3 separate regions of the Homo sapiens genome follow, and regions 2 and 3 are each linked to region 1. The links are contacts of gene promoters, found by promoter capture Hi-C in blood cells and fetal thymus (Javierre and others, 2016). All regions are on one chromosome and are shown on one strand. The core of a region is centred on a gene start or on the middle of the fragment in contact, and the rest is flanking DNA. Distances in the headings are between cores, read along the strand shown.

Region 1 (3,527 bases), core at 562-3,061:
CAGAAATACATACAACCGACGCTGGGTGTGGTTGGCTCATGACTGAAATGTCAGCACTTTGGGAGGCCGAGGAGGGAAGATCACTTGAGCACAGGAGTCTAAGACCAGCCTGGGCAACATAGCAAGACCTTGTCTCTGCAAGAAATTTTAAAAAATTAGCTGGGCATGGTAGTGCATGCCTATCATCGCACCTACCCCAGAGGCTGAGGTGGGAGGACTGCTTGAGCACAGGAATTTGAGGCTGCAGTGAGCTAAGATGGCACCACTGCACTCTAACCTGGGCGACAGGGCTAAAAAAAAAAAAAAATTATATGTACACACACACACACACATACACGCAACTGCAATGACATATCTTTTTTTTTCTTTTTTTTTTTTTAAGACGGAGTCTCACTCTATTGCCCAGGCTGGAGTGCAGTGGCACGATCTCGGCTCACTGCAAGCTCTGCCTCCCGGGTTCATGCCATTCTCCTGCTTCAGCCTCCCGAGTAGCTGGGAGTACAGGTGCCCGCCACCATGCCCGGCTAATTTTCTGTATTTTTAGTAGAGACGGGGTTTCGCCGTGTTAGCCAGGATGGTCTGCGATCTCCTGACCTCGTGATCCGCCGGCCTTGGCCTCCCAAAGTGCTGGGATTGCAGGCGTGAGCCACCGCGCCTGGCCCAATTGTTATTTATTGAACAGAGTTTGAAGAAACTGAAAGTCTCCATTTCGGTGGCCAAAACCGCAATTACTTTTGCACCAACCTAATACTTTAAAACAAACAACAACAAAAACACAGTTGTTATTCAAACATAAATTCAACTGGCGCTCACTTTTGTCTTCACTTAAGTTAATCAGATGTTCATGTTACTATGAAGTTGACCAGTTAATTTGTAATGAATAATTAGTTAATTTGTAATGAATAATATTTCACTGAGTAGTCAAGCCCTCTTTCCACTAAACCAAGCTGCTTCTCACTGTACTAAACCCCGGGCTCTCTCTAAACTTTCAGGTGTTCCACTCCTTGTCACCTTCCCCTAGATCCTGAGTGGGGTTCACTCTTAGCTCCCTCGGGGGCCACTTCTCAACACTTACAGAGCTCCTATTGACCTGGCACGGTGGCTCACGCCTGTAATCCCAGCACTTTGGCAGGCCGAGGTGTGGGGATCACCTGAGGTCGGGAGTTCGAGACCAGCCTGACCAGCAAGGAGAAACCCTGTCTCTACTAAAAATACAAAAAATTAGCCAGGTGTGGTGGCGCATGCCTGTAATCCCAGCTACTCGGGAGGCTGAGATAGGAGAATTGCTTGAACCTGGCAGGCGGAGGTTGGGTGAGCCGAGATCGTGCCATTGCACTCTAGCCTGGGCAACAAGAGCGAAACTGTCTCCAAAAAAAAGAAAGAAAAGAAAAAAAGAAGACTTCCTATCTCCACCTGGGTCCCCAAGAGGTAAGAGGTATCTCCTTTTCTCCTGAGCCTAGGTCACCTCGGGGTCCCCCGAAGTTCCCCAGAAGGGGCTGCACAAGTCAGGACAAGAAGTCCAGGAAATGGGGGGTCGCCGATGACCACGCCCCGGGGCTCTGTTTGGGAACCCCCAAAATTTACTGAGGTGGAAAGATTGCGGGGTCATTGTGGGGTCAGGCTGAGGGGGCCGGGCCCAGCCCTATTCACGTGACCCGGTCCCAGGGAGAGGAGTTTGTTCACCCACCAGAGGGAACGCCCGACGCGAAGGCAGTGTGGCACCCTCCCTTCCCGGGGAGTCCTGGGCGTTGCTCTCCCACCCCGGCCGTGACGCAATCTCTCCGCGCCGGGGGCGGGACGAGCTTGACGCCATCTCCGGGCGCCCGGCTGTGGGGGGCGCTGGGTGTGGGGCGGCTCCGGGGCCGGGGATGGCGGCGGCCGCGGTTGCGGCGGCTCCGGGACGAGTGAGTGGATCCTGGGAAGCGCTGTGAAATGGGCTGGTGAGTGTCCCTGGAAGTGGTGGCCGCCGGGGCCAGGCAGGCCTGGGGTCGGTGCTCCGGAGGAAGTGGCCCTCAGGAGCCCGTTGCTCCGGCGGGCCGGGGCCCATGAACCGTGGACAGACGGAGGGGAGAGGCCGCACCTAGACCCCCTCGCGCTTCTCTCTGGCCTGTCCTGGAAGGTGGCCTCAGGCCCCGGCGCCCCGGAGGCTGTGTGCCTGCGAGCCAAGGTGTCCGAGTCTGTGGGGCGGGAAGGGCCCCCAAACAAGGAAGCGTCGCCTGCAGGGCCTCGCCCCTGCCCCCTTGGTGAAGGGTGGACCCCCTACTCTCTAAACGCAGAATTCCCAATTTCGAGCCCTACCCTTGTTGGATCAAGGATTGCGGGACCACTGGGAGCCATAACCGTAGTCTCTGACAAGCTTCTCCCTTTCTGTCGGGCGCACCTCTCGCCCGCAGAGAATTTGGGTCTCCAGCTGGGTTCAGCCCCTTGATTCCGACCCAAGCGTGATGAGGAGCTTGGTTCCGGGCTCTGCTAGCAGCGTTGGCAACTCTCCTGAACAGCCTGTTAGCTCGGTTGGGGTCACAAGCTGCGTTTTCCCTTTGAGATGCTCAGTGAGGTTCTCGAGAGGCGGAGGTTTCGGATTCTTAAGTGTGTTTTGCGTTGTGGGAACCTGGCGCACAGGCTTGGCTCTTTGTTTTCCTTTCTGCAGACCTTTTGCCTCTTTCGGTCCCTTTACTAGCCTGTGTTTGCTAACTTCTCGGTGACCTGGAGGCAGGTTTTCTTTAAAGTTTTCGTTACAGAAAGCAAGGATCATTTTGGGATTGAAGTGTGACCCCAGTTTCTGTTGGGAATGAAGAAGAAAGCAAGCTGCTTTTCAGTTATTAAAGCTGCTGGTGGAGAAAAGAGTCATTATTTATGCCACTGTGTAATAATATGTGTTTGTGGAATTAGGAATTTGTTTTCCCACTGTGTTTTCCTATCCTTCCACCTTTTGTGTACACCTGCACCTTGCCAATCTTAAGAGAGAAATGTTGCATTCGGTTTGGGTTGAGGCTTAGAGTGTTCTATAGGACTTGGACAGGATAGTCAGTTTCTCAGAGCACTCACTCATCTGTACTGCCTTCTCTGTTTTCAGAGGTTAAGGCTCCATTCTTTCTCGCTTTGCGTTTCTGGCAAGTGTAGATTCACATAGTGATGGTTTAGTGGTAGTTTTGTTTCACCAGTGTTAGCCAGCTGAGGACCAAGGCAATATTTTCAGTTTCTTTCATACCTGATTCAGCACTTGGTATACTGTCACTCAGAAAATTTTACATACACACACACATATGCTCATTTTTTTTTAACCCTGAAAATCTCTTAATAAGTCTTCTCCTTGAGTGACTCCCCCCTGACCTCTTTTTCTGCCCCAGAAACATAAATAATTGTTCTTTTTCATCTACTGCTGCTTTTTTTCATTTAAATAACTCCACATTTATGTTTTCATAGGCCCAGAATAAAGGGGAAATCCATAGAGTTGATTTTTCCTGCTTCCCATTGTTCATATGGGAACAGTGTTAAAGCTTCCATTTTTATTTGTGCGTTTATCTGAA
Region 2 (3,527 bases), core at 613-3,112, 64 kb before region 1:
CCATGTTGGCCAGGCTGGTCTTGAACTCCTGACCTCAAGCAATCCACCCGTTTTGGCCTCGTGCTGGGATTACAGGCGTGAGCCACCGCGCCGGCCAAAAGTTTCTTAAACAAAGTTTTGTCTTAAAATTTTGTTTAAAAATTTTTTTAAATCAGCCAGGCGTGGTGGCATGCACCTGTAGTCTCAACTACTCAGGAGGCTCAGGCACCAGGATCGCTTGAGCCTCCTGTTGAAGGCTGCAGTGAACTACGATTGCACCACTGCACTCCAGCCTGAGTGACAGAGTAAGATCCTGTCTCTTAATTTAAAAAAAAAAAAAAAAAAAATTGCAGCTTTATGATATGAACAATCACCTTAATGAAAACATGCAATTGAAATTCTGTAAATTTTAACAGGCCTGCAACTGATTGGGTAGACCTTTTTAAAAGTCACCTTTATTTATTTTATTTTTTTGTTTAGAGACAGGTCTTGCTCTATCGCCCAAGCTGAAGTACAATGGCATGATCACAGTTCACTGTTAGTTCACAGTTAGTAACCTCTAACTCTTGGGCTCAGGCCATCCTGCTGCCTCAGCCTCCCAAGTAGCTACAACTACAGGCATATGCCACCACATGAGGCTAATTTTTTACTTTTTTTTTTTTTTTTGAGCTGGAGTCTCACTCTGTCGCCCAGGCTGGAGCGGGGTTTCACCGTATTGCCCTGGCTAGTGTCAAACTCCTGAGCTCAGGCCATCCGCCTGCCTCAGCTTCCTAAAGTGCTGGAATTACATGCATGAGCCACTGTACCCTACCCTAACTTTTTACTTTTGTAGAGATGAGGTCTCACTATGTTACCTGGGCTGGTCTTGAATTCCTGTCCTCAAACGATCCTTCTGCCTTGGCCTCCCAAAGTGCTGGGATTATAGGCATGGGGCACCATACCCAACCTATTTCTTTTTAATATTCAGAAATAACTGCCTGGTTTATACACACACACACCTAAAATCATCATTTTTGAAAAGCAAGCTTGTTACAACTGCACTACCACTATGTAGGCCTGACAACATAAAATCTATATAGACCAGAGTCTGTTTCTTCATTCTTCTGGCAGAAAAACAAAAAACAAAAACCTGACATTCCTAGTGAATCCAATTTTTTCTTTTGAGAAAATTATGAAATATTCCACTCAAAATACATAAAAATCACGTAACTGTCACTGACACACCAAGCAGCTTTATCAAATCTTAACATTTCACCCTATTTATTTTACATTACAAATTCAAATGAAGTCTTCTGTGTACTGGGCCTCAATCTCATTTCTCCATCCCAGAAGTAATCAGAACCCTAAACTGCTGCTCATGACTGCCATGCCATATATTCTTACTACACATGGAGAGACAGGTGGTTTTAAATGTTTTAAACTTTAAACAAATATCAAACTGTATTCCCGCTCTTTTCACTCAACAGCTTTGAGTATTACTCACATCAAGACAAGAAGATCTAATTCAGTCATAACTCACTGCTACATAGTATCCCACTTTTGAATATAAACTTACCTATTATCTGAGGACAAACAGATTGTTTGCAATGTTTTACCTATTAGAAACACTGCTGAAATGAATACTCTTATACATACATGTCTTTGTATACTGGAAAATTTATCTAGGTTATATACCTAAGGAGGCTTGATCAAATTCAGACTTTTCAGGTTTTGCTTTGTTCTGTTGTGATCTCATTTTGCAAATATGCACCACTTAGAGCCAGTGGTATGAACTTTCACCAGGAGGCGTATAATTATTTCTGGTAGTCGTCTCTCTTTTGTGACATTAGCAGCAACTGACGATCATCATGGGTTGCAAAATGATTAGATTCTAATTCATTCCTTCATTTATTAGTTGGACTACAGCTCTAAGAAGAAACTTCTCTATACAGAAGGAAGGCCATACTATTGCTAAGGAAAGGCAATATAAACGTTTATTTCAATCAATTGCAATTATTATCCTTTTTTTATTGACACAGAGTCTCACTCTGCCAACCAGGATGGAGTGCAGTGGCACGATCTCGCCTCACTGCAACCTCCGCCTCCCAGGTTCAAGTGATTCTCAAGCCTCAGCCTCCGGAATACCTGGGATTACAGGTATCTGCCACCATGCCCGGCTAATTTTTGTATTTTTAGTAGAGATGGGGTTTCACTATGTTTGTCAGGCTGGTCTCGAACTCCTGAGCTCAAGCAATCTGCCCGCCTCAGCCTCACAAAAGACTGAGATTACAAGTTTAGTCACCGCACCCAGCCTACAATTATTATTATTATTATTATTATTTTTATTATTATTTTGAGATGGAGTCTCGCTCTGTTGCCCAGGGTGGAGTGCAGTGGCGCAGTCTTGGCTCACTGCAACCTCCACCTCCCGGGTTCAAGCGATTCTCCTGCCTCAGTCTCCTGAGTAGCTGGGATTAATAGGCGCCTGACACCACACCTGGTTAATTTTTGTATTTTTAGTAGAGACAGGGTTTCATCATGTTGGCCAGGATGGTATTGAACTCCTGACCTCGTGATCTGCCTGCCTCGGCCTCCCAAAGTGCTGGGATTACAGGTGTGAGCCACCATGCCCAGCCGATTATTATTCTTATTAATACTCAAATTATCTCTTTTGGGGGTATGACTGCCTCTTCTGGTGATTACTGAAACCTTCTGACATGATCTTTGCAGTCTTTCTTGCTTTCTGGCATAGTAACATCATTCAAGCTTATTTTGTACATTTCCTTACCCTGGATTTGGGATCAGCCATCTTTCCAATGGGCTGAAAATAGTATCTGGAGACCACAGTCTAGGCTTAAGGATAGCTCATTGCTTCTGGTCTGGTCATTAATTCTAAGGCTTTTCAAGGAATAGTACTAGCTTAAGTACTTTATTTTAAGAAAAAAATTCCTTAATGTGAGAAAGCGTGTCTACTAAACCCTATGACAGTCACCCACATATTACTGTAGAGCATTTGTTTACGGCTTTAACAAGAGTGGCTATTATCATCACTTATTTGCAATAATGTACTACCTGTACAGTGTAATAAGAAAATAAGAAAATGTATAAGGATATCAAAGGAAAAAAAAGAACTGCCATTGTTTGCAGACAATAGTAGTATTGACTACATGGAAACAATGACGTCCACAGAGACTCTTAGAACCAAGTTCAATAATGTGGCAAAGTAGATAAATATTATTAAAAATCAATTATATCACTACAGATCTACAACATAATTATTTAAAATTTTAAAGGATACTATTTGCAACAGAAACAAGAGCTCTAAAGAACCTACAAATATATTTCTCCAAAGATGTGTTAAGACTTAAAAATCCTGTGTTTTAAAGGAAATTTTTTTTTAATTTTTTAAAAAGATGTATAAGACTGTACAGAAAACATTGTAAAATTTAGAGAAGCTAAAGAAGTGCAGTCCTATGCTACACAGATGGAAGGGAAGAATATCCTACACAGGTAATTGGGTATGGCAAGCAAGGCTAGAACTGAGGAAAAACAGAATCAGGCCCAGCCTA
Region 3 (3,527 bases), core at 1,028-3,527, 38 kb before region 1:
AAGTAAGAGTTTTAAAGTTTTGATAGCAATTAAGTCCTGCTATATACACAAAATTTTAAAATCCTCATCAAATGCAAATAAGGGGATTAAGCATTGTGGAAAATCTGTTTTGGTATGTAGATTGCCAATTCAATTTTTTTAATTAAAAATAATATCTTGGAAAATACTCATTCAACTTTTTAAATTTGTATAAATTAAAAGTTTTGGCCAGGTGAGGTGGCTCACACCTGTAATCTCAGCACTTTGCGAGGCCGAGGCAAGAGGATTGCTTGAGCCCAGCCTGGGCAACATGACAAAACACTATCTATACAAAAAATACAAAAATTAGCCCTGCGTGGTAGCACACGCCTGTAGTCCCAGCTACGTGGAGGGCTGAGGCAGGAGGATCGCTTGAGTCCAGGAGGTCCAGGCTGCAGTGAGCTGAGACCACTGCACTCCAGCCTGGGCAACAGAGTGAGACCCTGTCTCAAACAATAAAAATAATAAAAAAAAAAAAAAAGAGTTTTTATAAATCATAAAGAAGTTGGTTTTGTTTGCATACCACTGATTTTTAAAACTCCTTTTTTAAATAAACACTGGGGTGAAATATCACCAAGGCATTCCTGGCAAATTCTGTACTTTAAAGTTTCACTCTAAAATCTGCCCTCAAATCTAGAACTGCTATCAATGACAGAGGTCAGACCAAAGAACAAGCAACTGCCCCCAAAAGAAAACGGAGGTTTCCTAAACGCAAAGCAGACATTCAAATATGCACTGATCAATGGTGCACTAAACAACACTTTGCTAGGAATTTGTTAAGGCAAAAGGACCCTTTCTACAGTGAATGCAAACTATCTAAGAATGAATTTTTAAAAGTTTAATATTTTTAAATATTTTGGTAGAGACGGAGTCTCATTAGGTTGCCCAGGCTGGCCTCCAACTCCTGGGCTCAAGGGATCCACCTTCCACCTCCCAAAGTGTTGGGATTACAAGCATGAGCCACTGAGCGCCCGCCTGAATGACATTTAAATACCAATATATTAAAGCATGAAAAACACTGAGTTAACTAACATCTATGTGATAGCTCTTCTAACACCTTACTTGAAAAGTCTAAGTCAGAAATGGAACATTTCAGTAGTAACTGCGAGGGCATACTTACTAAATGAGTGAGCATTACATAGGTGTTCAGTGTTTGACAGTTCCTTTAAACCAAAAGAGAAAATTCCATTGCTTCAGGGTAATACAGAACTCACGTATCTAATAGTAACTAATATATTTTTGAAAAATCTGCTTAAATAACAAGATCACTGAGTATTTAAACTGAAAATATTGTTTTCTTCTGAGACATCATATGACCTATAGAGGAATTTATCTACAATCTCATTTCAATAACCTGATAATAATAATGCATCTATAAGTGGCTTAGCAATATTAAAAAGCTTGACTCAATTCAAGTTATAAATTTAAACTTCAACCACTAGACTGTGATCTCAAATAAGTTAATTTCTCTTTTGCAGATGTGAAAACCCAGGCTGAGATGAAATAAGGGTGATTCAATCACACTCGCCTAACTTGAAACGTAGGAAATGTATCAGTGAATAACTGTGAAATACTTTTTGCCAGGCACGGTGGCTCACGCCTGTAATCCTAGCACTTTGGGAGGCCGAGGCGGGCGGATTACCTGAGCTCAGGAGTTCGAGATCTGCCTGGGCAACATGATGAAACCCCATCTCTACTAAAATACAACAACAAAAAATTAGCCGGGCGTGGCGGCGTGTGCCTGTAGTCCCAGCTACTTGGGAGGCTGAGGCAGGAGAACTGCTTGAACCCGGGAGGCGTAGGTTGCAGTGAGCCGAGACCGTGCCACTGCACTCCAGCCTGGAGACAGAGGGAGACTTCGTCTCAAAAAATAAATAAATAAAAATAAAGACATACTTTTTATTCAAGCATGCTAGACTGCAAACATGCCTTTAGAATAAAAGTGACGAGATTACGAGTACTTAGAGGGTTCATATTTTTCAAACGTGAAAGTTAGGGTGTGTGACAAGTTAGGTATTTGACAAGTATTCTAGGGAACGGTGGAAGTGAATATTTAAAATTCAGCTATCCCCAGAAAAACCCAATACATGAAATCATTACAAGTATTTTTTAGAATCAGTCAGCAAAGATCATTACTGTACAAACACTTCAAAGTTAAGGTCACTAAGAAAGCACTAACTCCTCCCTTCTGTTAACTAATCACTGTAAAGCAGCCCAACTCTCCTTTCTACCTACCTCAGATTAATATTTTTCTCCATGGACAGATTTCCGTGCTCAGGGATATATAATAGGGGAGAAAAAAAAATACCACACAAGTGTCAGTAAGCACCAAAAAGCTAAGTATTCAGCACAGGGAGGGAATCCACATATGAGAAAACATTTGACAGCTCTTGCCTCCCAAAAGCCATTTAATCTGCTTCATAAACATAATCTGCTTCATAAACATTACCCTGAGCGAGTGGTTCGATGGATCTCCTACACCGAGTCCTAACCGGGAAACACAATCAACCGAACCGTCCCGACTCTTTCAGGCAATCAGGAAGACCGGGAGAATTATTAGACGCTGACGTCCGCAGGGCCAGGAGCTGAGAAAAGGGTAAACAGTATACTCGCAGGTAGGTTGAAAAAAACAAAACAACAACATATACACACACACACGAAAAATTGGGAAAGAAGTTGGTCGGAAGGTTAGAGAGAGGCGAGGCCGATGTCCGGTTCCGAGAGGACGGCACTGCAGGGGCAGGCAGCGATTAACTGGGCATTTGGATATGCTGGGAGTTATCTGACAGACCTGACACGGGTACAAGACACAAGAACGCTGATACGTGGCTCAGAGAAGACACGCGGGGGTGGGGCCCGCCCCGCTAAACCCCAGGCTCCCTGAATGAGCCCTCAAAGATCGCAGCCTGAGAAAGTCAAGGGTTCAAGGAGGCCCGTACCGGCGGGGCAACGCCACAACACGGAACGCCGCGGCGCGCGGAACCTCCCGGTCCGAGGCCTCGGGGTCGGCCCTCCAGAAGTCGGAGCAGCCCCTGGGGCTCCCGGCCTCTCCTGGCCCAGCTTCTCTGTCTTCTCTTCTCAACACCCACAGCCTGGGACTGGACCCCTGAAACTGAAAGGAAGCTTCCGGTCGAGCGCCCGCGGCAGCGGCGGGGCAAAAGCAGCAATATGCTCTCAGCGCCGGGAGTGACACTCACCGGCCCGAAACCTCGAATGAAACCAGCAGCTCCGGGGGCGGCGGCAGCAGTGGCAGCAGGAACCGAACATCCAAAATGGCGGCTCCCTCGGCCTCACCACCGCTACCGCAGGCGGAGGGATCCTGAGGAAGGAGGGAGTTTTTAACTAACTTCACACACTATTGAGGAAACTTCGCTCCCTGTCCTCCTCTCCTGGTCGTTTCCGTGTCCTCGTACTGCAACTTATCGTGCCTTTTCTCTCGAATTATCCAAGAACTCGGACCCTGCCGAGGACTATTTGCCAAGGAGGAGGCGACTGCTCCTGGCAGAGCG

What was found. Contacts are between HindIII fragments. The CHiCAGO score rates a contact against its expected background, and 5 or more counts as called.
Region 2: a fragment that was not itself captured here is called in contact with the fragment with the promoter of ATXN1L in region 1 in 3 of 17 cell types (activated CD4 T cells, total CD4 T cells and naive CD4 T cells); the score reaches 6.2 in activated CD4 T cells.
Region 3: a fragment that was not itself captured here is called in contact with the fragment with the promoter of ATXN1L in region 1 in 11 of 17 cell types (naive CD4 T cells, fetal thymus, activated CD4 T cells and 8 more); the score reaches 16.1 in naive CD4 T cells.

The regions. Positions count from the first base shown.
Region 1 is chr16:71,844,165-71,847,691 of GRCh38, forward strand. ATXN1L (ataxin 1 like) reads left to right here and starts at 1,812. Exons shown (of 3, transcript NM_001137675.4): 1 at 1,812-1,940. RefSeq lists enhancers at 884-1,656, 1,390-1,439, 1,657-2,428, 2,230-2,299 and a silencer at 1,700-2,009. The HindIII fragment of the contact is 5,556 bases long and covers 1-2,354 here.
Region 2 is chr16:71,780,192-71,783,718 of GRCh38, forward strand. The region is part of intron 2 of AP1G1 (adaptor related protein complex 1 subunit gamma 1); the gene reads right to left. Among named protein-coding and RNA genes, the nearest start is that of SNORD71, 23 kb to the left of the region's middle. The HindIII fragment of the contact is 1,720 bases long and covers 1,003-2,722 here.
Region 3 is chr16:71,805,548-71,809,074 of GRCh38, forward strand. It overlaps AP1G1 (adaptor related protein complex 1 subunit gamma 1), which reads right to left and starts at 3,287. Exons shown (of 23, transcript NM_001128.6): 1 at 3,216-3,287. LOC124903714 (a long non-coding RNA gene) reads left to right here and starts at 3,411. Exons shown (of 2, transcript XR_007065110.1): 1 at 3,411-3,527. RefSeq lists enhancers at 2,418-3,065, 3,009-3,527. The HindIII fragment of the contact is 1,723 bases long and covers 1,417-3,139 here.